Linked DNA regions of Homo sapiens: regions 2, 3 and 4 are each linked to region 1. The links are contacts of gene promoters, found by promoter capture Hi-C in blood cells and fetal thymus (Javierre and others, 2016). All regions are on one chromosome and are shown on one strand. The core of a region is centred on a gene start or on the middle of the fragment in contact, and the rest is flanking DNA. Distances in the headings are between cores, read along the strand shown.

Region 1 (3,019 bases), core at 153-2,652:
GGAAGGCCTGGGCTCTTTGGGTTTTCCTTCCTCACGGGAACTGGACAGCAAAGACCCCAGTCCTGAGCTTTCAAGCCCCCACAGGGATCCTTCAGGGATCTGCCAAACCCAGTTTTTAGTGACCAGCCAGGTGAGGTCTGCATTAAAAAGGGGATGAGGCTGACTTCTCGGCTTTACGCCCCTTGGGTCCAGTAGCCAGTTGCCCTCACTCTCTCCCGCCTTCTGAGCTCCATTCAGACGTTGGAGGAGCTGGGCTCCCGGCTTAGGCCCGGCATGTGCTTCCCTGGCCGGCCTGCTCGCCCTCCCCCCACCGGCAAGCACAATACAACCTTAGTTTCTGCCACATGGGGTCACCTCCCTGCCCCCTGCCCCTTCCCAGGGGAAAGAGGTAATAGACACGTGGTAAGCCGGAGGGGTTCCCGGAAGGGGGCGGGGGTGCTGATAATTGGTGCTGCCTCCCACTACTCCCCCACGAGATAGTTAACAGGGACTCAGAATTGGGGTGCCGAAGCAAAGACAGGGATGCATAATGAGGGCTCCCGATGGCCCTCAATTCAACTGCGAGCCCGGAGCCCACCCGTGGATATGGGCGCCTAGACGCCCTTCCCTGGGCAAAGTTACCGGAATCAGTCTCACCTGGTGCACAAAGACATCCACTGGGGGGTCGAGCGCGACCCCGGCGCGGGCGGTCATGGACAGGAAGCCGAACCCCATGCGCACGTTGAACCACTTACAGATGCCCGCACCGTGCAGCAGCTGAGGCTCGTCCGCCGCCCGGGCCGCGTCCTCCGGCGCCTCCTCGGGCGCCTCTTCTGCCGCCTTGGCGCAGCCACCTGGAGAGAGGGAGGGCCGGGCACTTAGCTGGGGGGCACGGAATCGGAGGGCCGTCTCGGGCCCCAGGCAGGGAGACCCGAGTATCCAGCCCCACAAGTGGACAGCCAGGAGGGGGCAGCTACCAAGCAACAGAAGAGAAGAAACCTATCCCGGTCGCCTCCCGCGTTCCCCTAGCGTACACCGGGACAGTAGTGCCCCGAAAGTTTTGCTCCTCTTCCCACAACGCGTTTCCCAGAGACTCACGGCGGGACAAGCCTCTCCTCTCCATCCACCCACGTAGTCTGGCGCGCACGCCACTGGGACACCAAGGTTCCTGGCCCCAGAGACGGCCCTATGAAGCAGAAGGCCGCACCGTCTTGGGGTCCTTTGGGCAGCCTAGGACTCAGTTCCCCACCTCCCTTCTACGTGGCTCCTGGCCGCCCCTGAATCCTAAAGTGTCCCCGCTAAGTCCCGAGCTCGAACCTGCAAACTGCTGGTTGGACACGGAGCCCATGGTCGTCGGCTGAGCCCGTGGCCCCGGGCCCCTGGTCGGGCGGCTGCTGGCCCCGGAGAAGTCCGAAGGCAAAGGGTTGGTTCGGAGAAGAAGCTGCTACATCTTCCCCCGCACAATAGCGGTGGGAGGGCCCACGGCTTTTCAAAGGCTCCCAAATTCTAAAAGACAATGACCCAACCCCCCGCGGGCAGCCCCCTCCCCTCCCCTCCCTCTCCTTTCCCCTCCCTTTCCCTCCGGCTCCAGCTCCGGCCCTCCCCCACAACTCCGGTCTCTGACACCTCTGGGGTGTCCCTTCTCAGAACCTTGAGGTTTGACACCCCCTCCCCACACGCACAACTGGAGATGGGTCTGTCTGCCCTAGAAGACTTGAGTACCCCGGAATTTGAGATCCTGCACTTTGGACTCAGTAGGGGTCCCCAAAGCAGATACAGGTGGGGGACCTGGTGGGGGGGGTAGTTTTAAAACCACGTGACTGCACACACACACACACACACACACACACACACACACACACCACCCCCACCCCCCGGGCAGATAATTATACATTCCAGAGAGTTGGGGGAGGGAGGTGTGAGCCTGGCGGCGCTGGCCAATCAGAAACACAAACCACCTGTCAAGGGAGAAATGAATGGGCCCTCCCCCTCCCCCAGCCCTTGAGCTCCCCTCCCCCTCTCTTCCCCCTCAGGCCTCTGAGCTGACCCGGCTGCTTGGAGCTGACCCGCTCTCACCCCCCACCCCCGTGTGCTTAGATAGACCTGGAGTTCTGGACACTGGGAAGCCCGGGATGGGGGAGCAGGGGAGAGGCTGGGGACACACAGGGCTGATCTGTCCTGACCAAAGCGCTGCCTTCCAAAGTCTGTCTGCCTCTGACTACATCTGAATGTCTGCCTCCCAGAGTTTCTGACTCAGAGTTTTTCTGGGCCTCCCCCAGTTAGAAAAGAGAAAGTGCTCTTAATTGATTCGTTGTAAAGAATTCTTCCTTCTTTCCTCCCTCCAAACCTGTGTGTCTAAAGTTAGCCCCAGGTAAGCTCCCTGGAGAGCAGGAGGAACCCAAAGAGTCTTGAAGCTGTTTCTCCACCAGCTGCCTTCTCGTCCTACCCCCACCCCATCCCCATCCACTGCTGAGAGAGGGACTGGGTGGGCTGGTGGGTAGAGGTACTTCCTCTCTACTCTTCACACTCTTAGATTCCTAGGCCCTCCTTGTTTCAGAGTAACCACCCTAAAATGCGCTCCCATTCCGTAGTGGGGCTGGTGGAGGAACAGGACTGGGGGGCCTCCTCATTTGAAGAGGTAACCTCCCCTTCTAGGAGATAAAGACGGCTGGCTAGTGGGGGTGGCTACTGCCCTGGTCGGAGATGGACAATGGCCCGGGGCTCAGTGCACGGCCCTGGCCCTGCCCCTTCACTTCCGGTGTTCAGTTCAAACTGGACAATGCCAGCTCCGGCCAGTTCCCCTCCCCCACCACTACAACCCATTTAAAGGGACAGAGCCTGCTTTCGGGGGCATCCGCTTGCTCTGAATTCAATCTTCTCCACCGAGTGTGCAGAACCTTTTGGAATTCTCACGCTGTGGCTCTGTGTGTGTGTTTGTGTGTGTGTGTGTGTGCACGTGCGGATGTGGGCACATGTGTATTTCAGAGAGACCGGATGAGTGGGGGTAGGGAAGGGGAAGATGGGGAGGAAAGCAAGAGAC
Region 2 (3,019 bases), core at 385-2,884, 230 kb after region 1:
ACTATGTGCTATGCAAATCTATAAGAGCTTTACACATATTAACACATTTGATTCTCACTGCATTTCTAGGAGGTAAAGACTATCATTATCCTGCTTACAGATGGGAAAACTGACACAGAGGTTAAGTAGCTTGCTCACTCTTCGAAGGAATTCTTCCCCTTCTAAGCCAGGCTCCTTCACTGGGGGAGGTGTGTGTGTGTGTTCCCTGTGTCACATTGAGAGCACTGGACTGGGAGTTCATGAACCTATCACTCCCTGGCTATGGGCCCCTGAGCCACCTCCTTCCTGCACGGTGACTGTATTGGGCTGGTGCCCTCCCAATAGACCCAGGCATTGAGCTACAAATGAACTATGTCATGATTGTCTCACTTTGTCGACTTCATAAGGTCAGAGTTGCCTTTCCCATTTGATGGACAGAAAAACTAAGACCTATGGTCACAGAGCTGGCAAGCGGTGGGGGTGGGCCTGGAATCCAGCCTGGGAGTCTGAACCCAGCCCTGAATTCCTGCCCTTACCCGGGCTGGTCCTCCTGAGCCTGTCTCTAGTGCGCTCCAGCTCCCCACTCTGGGAGGGGTGTCCTGACTGCCTGCTCCTGGTCGCACTGTGTGTCAGGAGGCCCTTCCTTCTCTGAGTCTGCCTGTGGGGTGTGTTGCTTCCCATCTGTGTGGGCTCGCTGAGCCTGGACAGCACCTTGCCCCTTGGATAGGAGCCCCAGGGTGGGGCTGTGTCAACCTCTTCAGTCTGGCCTAGGGCTTCTGCTTCTGTCACTAGGAGCTCAGGGTGTGGAGCGGGGAAAATGACACCAGAGACTGAGCAAATCATTTCCTGGCTCTGTGTGTCAGTTTCTGACTCTAAGAAACGGATTTAACAACAGCCCACTGGCCCTGGGGCCAGGGAAGATGAAGGAGATACAGTGGGTGTGGGCCTGTCAGGCCTCCCTCCTGTTTTCATGACACCGCCTCCCCATTATCACCCTAGAGGCCTCTTGGGCTACTGCCATGATGAGGGGCCCCCTTCTGGGTCCTTGGGCCCCCCAGGGTCATCTCATCTGTCTCTCTGCCCAGCACGGTTCCTGGAACATGTTAGGTGCTCTGTAAATATTTGTTGACTGACTGACCGACTGATAGAGCCCGCAGTTTATTATTTTTTTTTTTCTTTTGAGCTGAATCTCGCTCTGTCGTCCAGACTGGAGTGCAGCGGTGCAATCTCGGCTCACTGTAACCTCTGCCTCCTGGGTTCAAGCGATTCTCCTGCCTCAGCCTCCCAAGTAGCTGGGATTACAGGCACCTGCCACCACCCCCAGATAATTTTTGTATTTTTAGTAGAGACGGGGTTTCACCATGCTGGTCTTGAACTCCCGACCTCAGGTGACCCACCCACCTTGGCTTCCCAAAGTGCTGGGATTACAGGTGTGAACCAGCGCACCCAGTCCGCAGATTTTTTTTCCTTTTCCTCTCCTCCCGCTTCCCGGTGGGACACCACACCTAGTCCCCTTCAAGCCCAACTCTACCCCAGCCCCACCCACCTCTCAGCCAAGTTGCCACCTTTCCGGGGGTCCAGGTCTCTACCGGTTCCATGGCCCAGCTCTGCCAGCTCGAATCAGCTCCTGTTTTGCCCTGCTGTCGCCGGAATTTCCGCTCCCAGAGCCCAGGCCTAAGGAGGGGCCGGGCTGGGTCCTGGGCGGAGCCTACTGCATACCTGGGCTCACACAGACGGCAAGATGAGGCACTGCGACAGCCATTGGCCCACGCCCGTCCGCCTCCTGCCCGGCCCTTCAGACATCCTAGGGCTCTGGCATCTCGCGCCTGCTAGGGGGCAGTGCCACTGGCCTCATATCGCGGGGTGGGACCCTGACCCTTGGGCTCCTCAAGAAAAAGCCACAAGAGGAGCGCTGAAATCAGTAGCAAAGCACAGAGGCTAGGGGGCCAGGTCCCTGGGTGCCTAGGCCAGCTCTTGTTAGCTGTGTGACCTGGGGCTGACCCTAACTTCTGCGCCTCAGTTTCTGGGTCTGTAAAAGAGATATAATAGACCGTACTTCAAAGGGCAGCTGTGCACAGTATCTGAATGGCTTGAAAACATTTAGAACTGGGGTGTTTAGCCTCCCTTGGATTTTGCAGTATGGACTCTGGCATCTGGTGAGGCCTGTGAATGCTTTCTCAGAATAGCTGCTTATAAAGGCATAAAACAGGCCGGGCGCGGTGGCTCACGCCTGTAATCCCAGCACTTTGGGAGGCCGAGGTGGGCGGATCACTTGAGATCAGGAGTTCAAGACCAGCCTGGCCAATATGGTGAAACACCATCTCTACTAAAAATACAAAAAATTAGCTGGGCGTAGTGGGTGCTTGTAATCCCAGCTACTCAGGAGGCTGAGGCAGGAGAATCCCTTGAACCCAGGAGGGGGAGGTTCCAGTGAGCCAAGATCGTGCCACTGCACTCCAGCCTGGGCAACAGAGCAAAACTCTGTATTATAAATAAATAAATAAATGCACAAAACAAAATGCTTAGGATTACAATGAGAACAATTATCAAAACTATATTTAAAAACAAATTTGGCCGGGCATGGTGGTTCACGCCTGTAATTCCAGCACTTTGGAAGGCCAAGGCGGGTGGATCATGAGGTTAAGAGATGGAAACCAGCCTGCCCAACATGGTGAAACCCCGTCTCTACTAAAAATACAAAAATTAGCTGGGTGTGGTGGTGCACGCCTGTAGTCACAGCTACTCAGGAGGCTGAGGCAGGAGAATCGCTTGAACCTGGGAGGCGGAGGTTGCAGTGAGCTGAGATCACGCCTCTGCACTCCAGCCTGGCAACAAAGCAAGACTCCGTCTCAAAAAAAAAACCCACAAAAAACAAAAAAAAAATTTGGAGCTGGGGAGTGCTGGCACACGACTGTAGTCCCAGCTACTCGAGAGGTTGAGAGGTTGAGCGGGGGAGTATCACTCAAGCCCAGGAGTCAAAGCCACCCTGGGCAACATAGCAGGAGCCCATCTCAAAAAAATAAAACCAGAAATTTATATT
Region 3 (2,538 bases), core at 1-2,500, 210 kb after region 1:
GCACCGATGGTGATGAAGATGGTAAAGTAGATGGCACCCCCAATCTCCATTGCATATTCCCTCTTCTCTGTCCTGCAGATGGCAGGCAGGGGCCCCATCATTTCCCTGGCCCTTCAAGCCTGAGTTTCCTTGTCATTGAAATGGGAAAATCATCCCAAGGCCTACTAGAACTTCTGCCTGTGTCACTGCTGTTGTGCAGATCCCATTCCCTACTCCTGTCTCAATAGCTGCTCTCTACTAAGCACCTACTGTGCTGCCAGACAGTGAGCTGATTCTCTAACCAACCCTGCAAGGTGGGGACGTGCACATCAACACTATTAAGTTTAATCTATTAGCTACACTCCTTTTTTTTTTTTTGAGATGGAGTCTCGCTGTGTTGCCCAGACTGGAGTGAAGTGGCGTGATCTCGGCTCACTGCAAGCTCCACCTCCTGGGTTCATGTCGTTCTCCCGCCTCAGCCTCCCAAGTAGCTGAGACTACAGGTGCTTGCCACCACGCCTGGCTAATTTTTTTTTTTTTTTTTTGAGACAGAGTCTCACTCTGTCACCTAAGCTGGAGTGCAGTGGCGTGATATGGGTTCACCGCAACCTCCGCCTCCCAGGTTCAAGCGATTCTCCTGCCTTAGCCTCCTGAGTAGCTGGGATTACAGGCGCCCCACCGTCCGGCTAATTTTTGTATATTTAGTAGAGACGGGGTTTCACCTTTTTGGCCAGGCTGGTCTTGAACTCCTGACCTTGTGATCCACCTGCCTCAGCCTCCCAAAGTGCTGGGATTACAGGTGTGAGCCACTGCACTGGGCTTTGTTTTTGTATTTTTAGTAGAGATGGGGTTTCACTGTGTTAGCCAGGATAGCCTTGATCTGACCTCGTGAGCTGCCCACCTCGGCCTCCCAAGGTGCTGGGATTACAGGCGTGAGCCACCGCGCCCGGCCCCGGCCAGCCTGATTTTTATCCACTACCTATGCCATAATGGAGAATGACTGTAGAAGCCCTTTATCTACTGGGCTTCTATACTCACATGTAGAAGATAAAAAGAAATCAGTTAAGGGGTCCCACTTTCTGGAATAAACTGGAAAGAAATAGGGCTTAGACTTAATAGAAAAGAGGTAAAGAACAGAACACAAAAATGAATGTGGGCAGTGGGTTTAAGAATGAATGAAATGAGACCTGAAGTTCCCAGGAGTTCAGGCAGTTTGGTGGGCTCCAAGGTGGGCTGGGAGGTTGCTCTGTAACCTGAGGCATAACTGCAGACCTGCTGCCTTATCCAAGGCCAACTACCCAGCTGGTTAGCATGATGGGAGAGGTCCCCATTACAGGGTGGGAATGGGACTCTGAATATATGGAGATTCAAGGGTGACAAGGCTTCAGGTATCACAAGTCCAGGTATTTCCTTTTCCTCTGTTTAAAGACCTGGGAACCCCCACTTCTACTGGGCCATCCTCATCCCAATCCCTGGAGCTCCCACTCTCAGCCTGGAGCTCCACCGGCTACCCTGCCCCATAGGTGGGATGAGGCTGGAAGTCCCACTGGCACTCACTGGAAGTCACTGTAGATGTCCACCCAGCCGTCCTGGGTGATGCAGATGAAGAGGGTGTACAGCGCAACCTGTATGTTCTGGAAATGCTTGGGCACGAATGCACCAAAGAGTGTTACTCCAAACACGGAAAAAACCTGTCAGAGAGAAAAGAGCCCCACCCCGACTTCACCAAAGGGCCTGGAAATAGGACACACAAATGTCATGTAAATGAACGCTGCTGAGGAAATCACAGGGATTCAGGCCCACAGGCCTCTCTGCTTTTCCAGACACCCCTCTATTTGCAATGACCCAAGGGCCCTGTTCAGGGAAGGGAAACAGCTGGGGGCGGGGGCAGGCACTGACCAGCATGAAGAAGAGGATGAGGACCATGATATTGGCCATGTCAGGCACCGACTGCAGGATGACGCGGATGATCCGGGCGAGGGGCTCCACCGCCATGCACACATGCACCAGACGAAGCGCCCTGTGGCAGAGCCTGTCAGGGGTGCCCCTAGGCCCTTCCCAGCCCCTTCCCTCCTCATTACCCCCACCAGCTGCCCAGAGAGGCAAAGCTGATCTCCAGCTGGTCGTTATCCCCCCATCTCATTCCTGGGTTCCAGATAGGTCCCCCTCATTTCTCCAGAGCTCCCCGCTCACCTGAGAGTGTAGTTGATGGAGGGAATATTGATTTCATTAATGAAGAACCGCAAGAGCAAGATAAAGACGATAATGAAGTTGAGGATGTTCCAGCCGTCCTGGGGAGTGGGCCAGCCCCAGTGGGGTCTGTCAGGCCCAGCCCATGGGGGCATCCTAGGTCTGCCCTCCCCACATCCCAGGGATGAGGGCTCAATGTCCCTCTCAGAGCAGGGCCAGTCAGCTGCCATCCACTGCTGTTACCCTGCCGCCCCCCAAACAAGCCACAAAACACACGTGTACTCTCTGTCCCATACATGTGTCAATAGCCAAATGCAGTCTCAGAGACACACAGCAAAGACCCTTACAGATACATGGCTGGTCCCTAAG
Region 4 (3,019 bases), core at 185-2,684, 180 kb after region 1:
AGATTCCAACCTGTTTTTGAATAAAGGAATGATATTCACACAAACACTGCTGCCATATCCACCCTCTACTAGGAAGGGGGAGCTAATGAGGTCAGAAATAATTAAGGGGCAGGAGAAGGAGGCTTGGATAATAGTGTGTGTATACATTTATCCTCATTCTGAAATTGAATAGTTCGTGCCCATTTTGCAGAAAAAAAGAAAGGAGACTTAGGGCCAGCTGGCCAAGGCCCAGGAACTTTCCCTGGAATGAGAGTCATAGAGTCTCCATGTTGAAGCAGAGATCATCAGTTCAAACTCTCATTTTACATATGGAGAGATAGAGGATAAAGTGACTTCTCCCTGCCATCCCCAACCCCCTCAATATAAGATCTGGATTACACAGAAAGGAGTCAGACAAAGTAGAATTCCCGGCTGTTTATTAGCCATACCCTCTGCACCTCCCCATACCATACTAAGTAACTCAATCTCCCCCTAGAAGAGTTCCAGAGATAGGAAGCAAAGGTGGGATGAGGAAGCAGAGCCCAAGGCTGATCAGCCACACTCCTTACCAGATGTTGGTTTCATCTGCACCCCCAACCTCTCTGGTCCGTAACAATAAAACGGACTACTTGCTTTCCCTAAATCTTCCTCCACTCTACCCTTGCCTCAGGCGAGTAAACTAGAGGCCAAGGACTAGGGTTGGAGGAGGTATCAGGCTTCTATCCCAGCATCCAGCTTATTGCTATCAGAAGAAAGATGGCCATCCAGGCTCCTGCAGGAAAGAAAGAAATGATTATAAAACAGAATTAAGTGGCATTGAGAGCAGGGGAAAGTTTTTAGGCTTAGATATTCCCCTTTAGGGAATTATTTAGAAATCCATTCATTCATTCAACAAGCTTTCTTGGGACTGACTGTGTGTAAGTTAAATTGGGGGTGGGGAGGATGGGGATGAAAGGCACTGTCTAGTTCAGTGTGGACCCTACTCAGCCACCTTCACCTGTCCTTGTTACCTGTCTGGCTCTGTATCTTGAATTTTCTTTTTTCTTTTAGAGACAGGGTCTCACTCTGTCTCCCAGGCTGGAGTGTGGTGGCGCCATCATAGTTCACTGCACCCTCAAACTCCTGGTCTCAAGCGATCCTTCTGCCTCAGCCTCTCAAGTAGCTAGGATTACAAGCATGTGCCATGATGCCCAGCTAATTTTTAAATTTTTTATAGAGACAGCATCTTGCTGTGTTGTCCAGGCTGGTGTCAAACTCCTGGCCCCAACCACTCCTCCCACTTTGGTCTCGCAAAATGCTGGGATTACAAGTGTGAGCCACTGCCTGGCCTGTATCTTGAATTTTCACCTCCTACCTGCTTGCCCCTGTATCTTGAATTTTCAATCATTTCTGGATAGACTCAGGTTCTGATGAAGGATAAACCACCAGCCCCACAATGACAAGTGCCATGTACTGTTGAGACCCAAGAAGCTGAGACTCAAATAAGTTAACTGCCGGGCATGATGGCTCACACCTATAATCCCAGCATTTTGGGAGGCTGAGGCAGGCAGATCGTCTGGGGTCAGGAGTTCGAGACCAGCCAGGCCAACATGGTGAAACCCTCCCTCTACTAAAGTACAAAAATTAGCTGGGCATGGTGGTGCGTGCCTGTAATCCCAGATACTCGGGAGGCTGAGGCAGGAGAATGGCTTGAACCCGGGGGGCAGAGGTTGCAGTGAGCTGAGATCACGCCACTGCACTCCAGCCTGGGCATCAGAGTGAGACTCTGTCTCAAAAAAAAAAAAAAAAAAAAGAAAGAAAAAAAAAAAGGTTAACTGACTTCTCTCAGCTCGTATAGAGTGGAGCAGAAACAAAATCCAAAACCAGCACCTGCCAAGACCCAGCAGCGTGTATCCTCAGACCCTGGTGCAACCATCAGAACTTCATCACAGCAATATCTTTGTACCAACCTGCCGAGCTTCTGCTGCTGGAGGCATTGGACTATGAAACCACATAGAAAGAGAGATCAAGCTTAAGGTGCCATTCTGGCAGGACAAGGCTAGCATTCTCCCATTATTTTATCAAGACTGGGCAAAGGGCTTGGTCTCTTTGAAACTGAGATTCAGAAGGGTGTGATGATGGACCTCCTGCCTCTAATAAGAATGGACTTAGTAGAAGATGGGCTTTCCCAAGAGGGTTGGAGTTTTTGTTTTGTTTTGTTTTGTTTGTTTTTGCTTTTTGAGACGGAGTCTTGCTCTGTCGCCCAGGCTGGAGTGCAGTGGCAAGATCTTGGCTCATTGCAAGCTCCGCCTCCCGGGTTCACGCCATTCTCCTGCCTCAGCCTCCCGAGTACCTGGGACTACAGGGGCCCGCCCCCACGCCCGGCTAATTTTTTTTTTTTCCTGTATTTTTAGTAGAGATAGTGTTTCACCTTGTTAGCCAGGATGGTCTCGATCTCCTGACCTTATGATCCGCCCACCTCGGCCTTCCAAAGTGCTGGGATTACAGGCGTGAGCCACCGCGCCCGGCGAGGGTTGGGGTTTTGAAGGACCATTATGGAATAGAAAGAAGGGAGAGACTGTTTCTAGATCATTAAGGAAGATTTACCAAAAAAGTTTGGCACGAGGGACAGCCTGGGAGAAGAGTGATCTGGTGTGACAGGAAAGGTGAGAATGGAAGGAGACAGGCAGAGAAGGCTCAGACTTGAAGTTGACTGAGTGAGACCGGTGAGGAGAGCAGAGGGGAAGCCGAGGAGGACATGGGCTTGGGGAGGAGACTTGCATTTAGGGAAGAGTGGAGGGCATGAAGGAAGGAGGGGACAGAGCAGGTCGGTAGGAGGCTCTGGAAGAGGAGTCAGGGAGGCCCCAGAAATGATCCATTTACCGCTTATTCGGATGGGCCCGAATGCTATCCAGCTGCCGCCGCGCTCCAGGCCCTCCCGCGTTCGGATCTCCCAGGAGCGATCCCTCCCAGGCGAGTTCTTCTGACTACAAGCTTGTGGGCAACGCAAGCACAAGGGTAGCGAAGCCGGCCAGGCGAGGACTTTGCCCAAGACCCCAGG

Evidence for each region. Contacts are between HindIII fragments. The CHiCAGO score rates a contact against its expected background, and 5 or more counts as called.
Region 2: the fragment with the promoter of CNKSR1 here is called in contact with the fragment with the promoter of LIN28A in region 1 in 9 of 17 cell types (M2 macrophages, non-activated CD4 T cells, M0 macrophages and 6 more); the score reaches 10.9 in M2 macrophages.
Region 3: a contact is called between a fragment that was not itself captured here and the fragment with the promoter of LIN28A in region 1, in 2 of 17 cell types (M2 macrophages and M0 macrophages). The highest score is 6.0, in M2 macrophages.
Region 4: a contact is called between a fragment that was not itself captured here and the fragment with the promoter of LIN28A in region 1, in 2 of 17 cell types (M2 macrophages and M1 macrophages). The highest score is 5.4, in M2 macrophages.

What each region holds. Positions count from the first base shown.
Region 1 is chr1:26,409,200-26,412,218 of GRCh38, reverse strand. It overlaps LIN28A (lin-28 RNA binding posttranscriptional regulator A), which reads right to left and starts at 1,402. Exons shown (of 4, transcript NM_024674.6): 1 at 1,297-1,402; 2 at 637-833. The coding sequence starts at 1,327. RefSeq lists enhancers at 2,136-2,693, 2,694-3,019. The HindIII fragment of the contact is 9,111 bases long and covers 1-3,019 here.
Region 2 is chr1:26,176,106-26,179,124 of GRCh38, reverse strand. It overlaps CNKSR1 (connector enhancer of kinase suppressor of Ras 1), which reads right to left and starts at 1,634. Exons shown (of 21, transcript NM_006314.3): 1 at 1,526-1,634. The coding sequence starts at 1,577. The HindIII fragment of the contact is 21,071 bases long and covers 1-3,019 here.
Region 3 is chr1:26,197,418-26,199,955 of GRCh38, reverse strand. CATSPER4 (cation channel sperm associated 4) reads right to left here. Exons shown (of 10, transcript NM_198137.2): 4 at 2,173-2,270; 5 at 1,879-1,999; 6 at 1,537-1,670; 7 at 1-72. Among named protein-coding and RNA genes, the nearest start is that of CATSPER4, 8.1 kb to the right of the region's middle. RefSeq lists an enhancer at 1,485-1,984. The HindIII fragment of the contact is 8,937 bases long and covers 1-2,538 here.
Region 4 is chr1:26,225,526-26,228,544 of GRCh38, reverse strand. It overlaps the pseudogene ZPLD2P. Among named protein-coding and RNA genes, the nearest start is that of CEP85, 7.2 kb to the left of the region's middle. RefSeq lists an enhancer at 2,889-3,019. The HindIII fragment of the contact is 1,114 bases long and covers 878-1,991 here.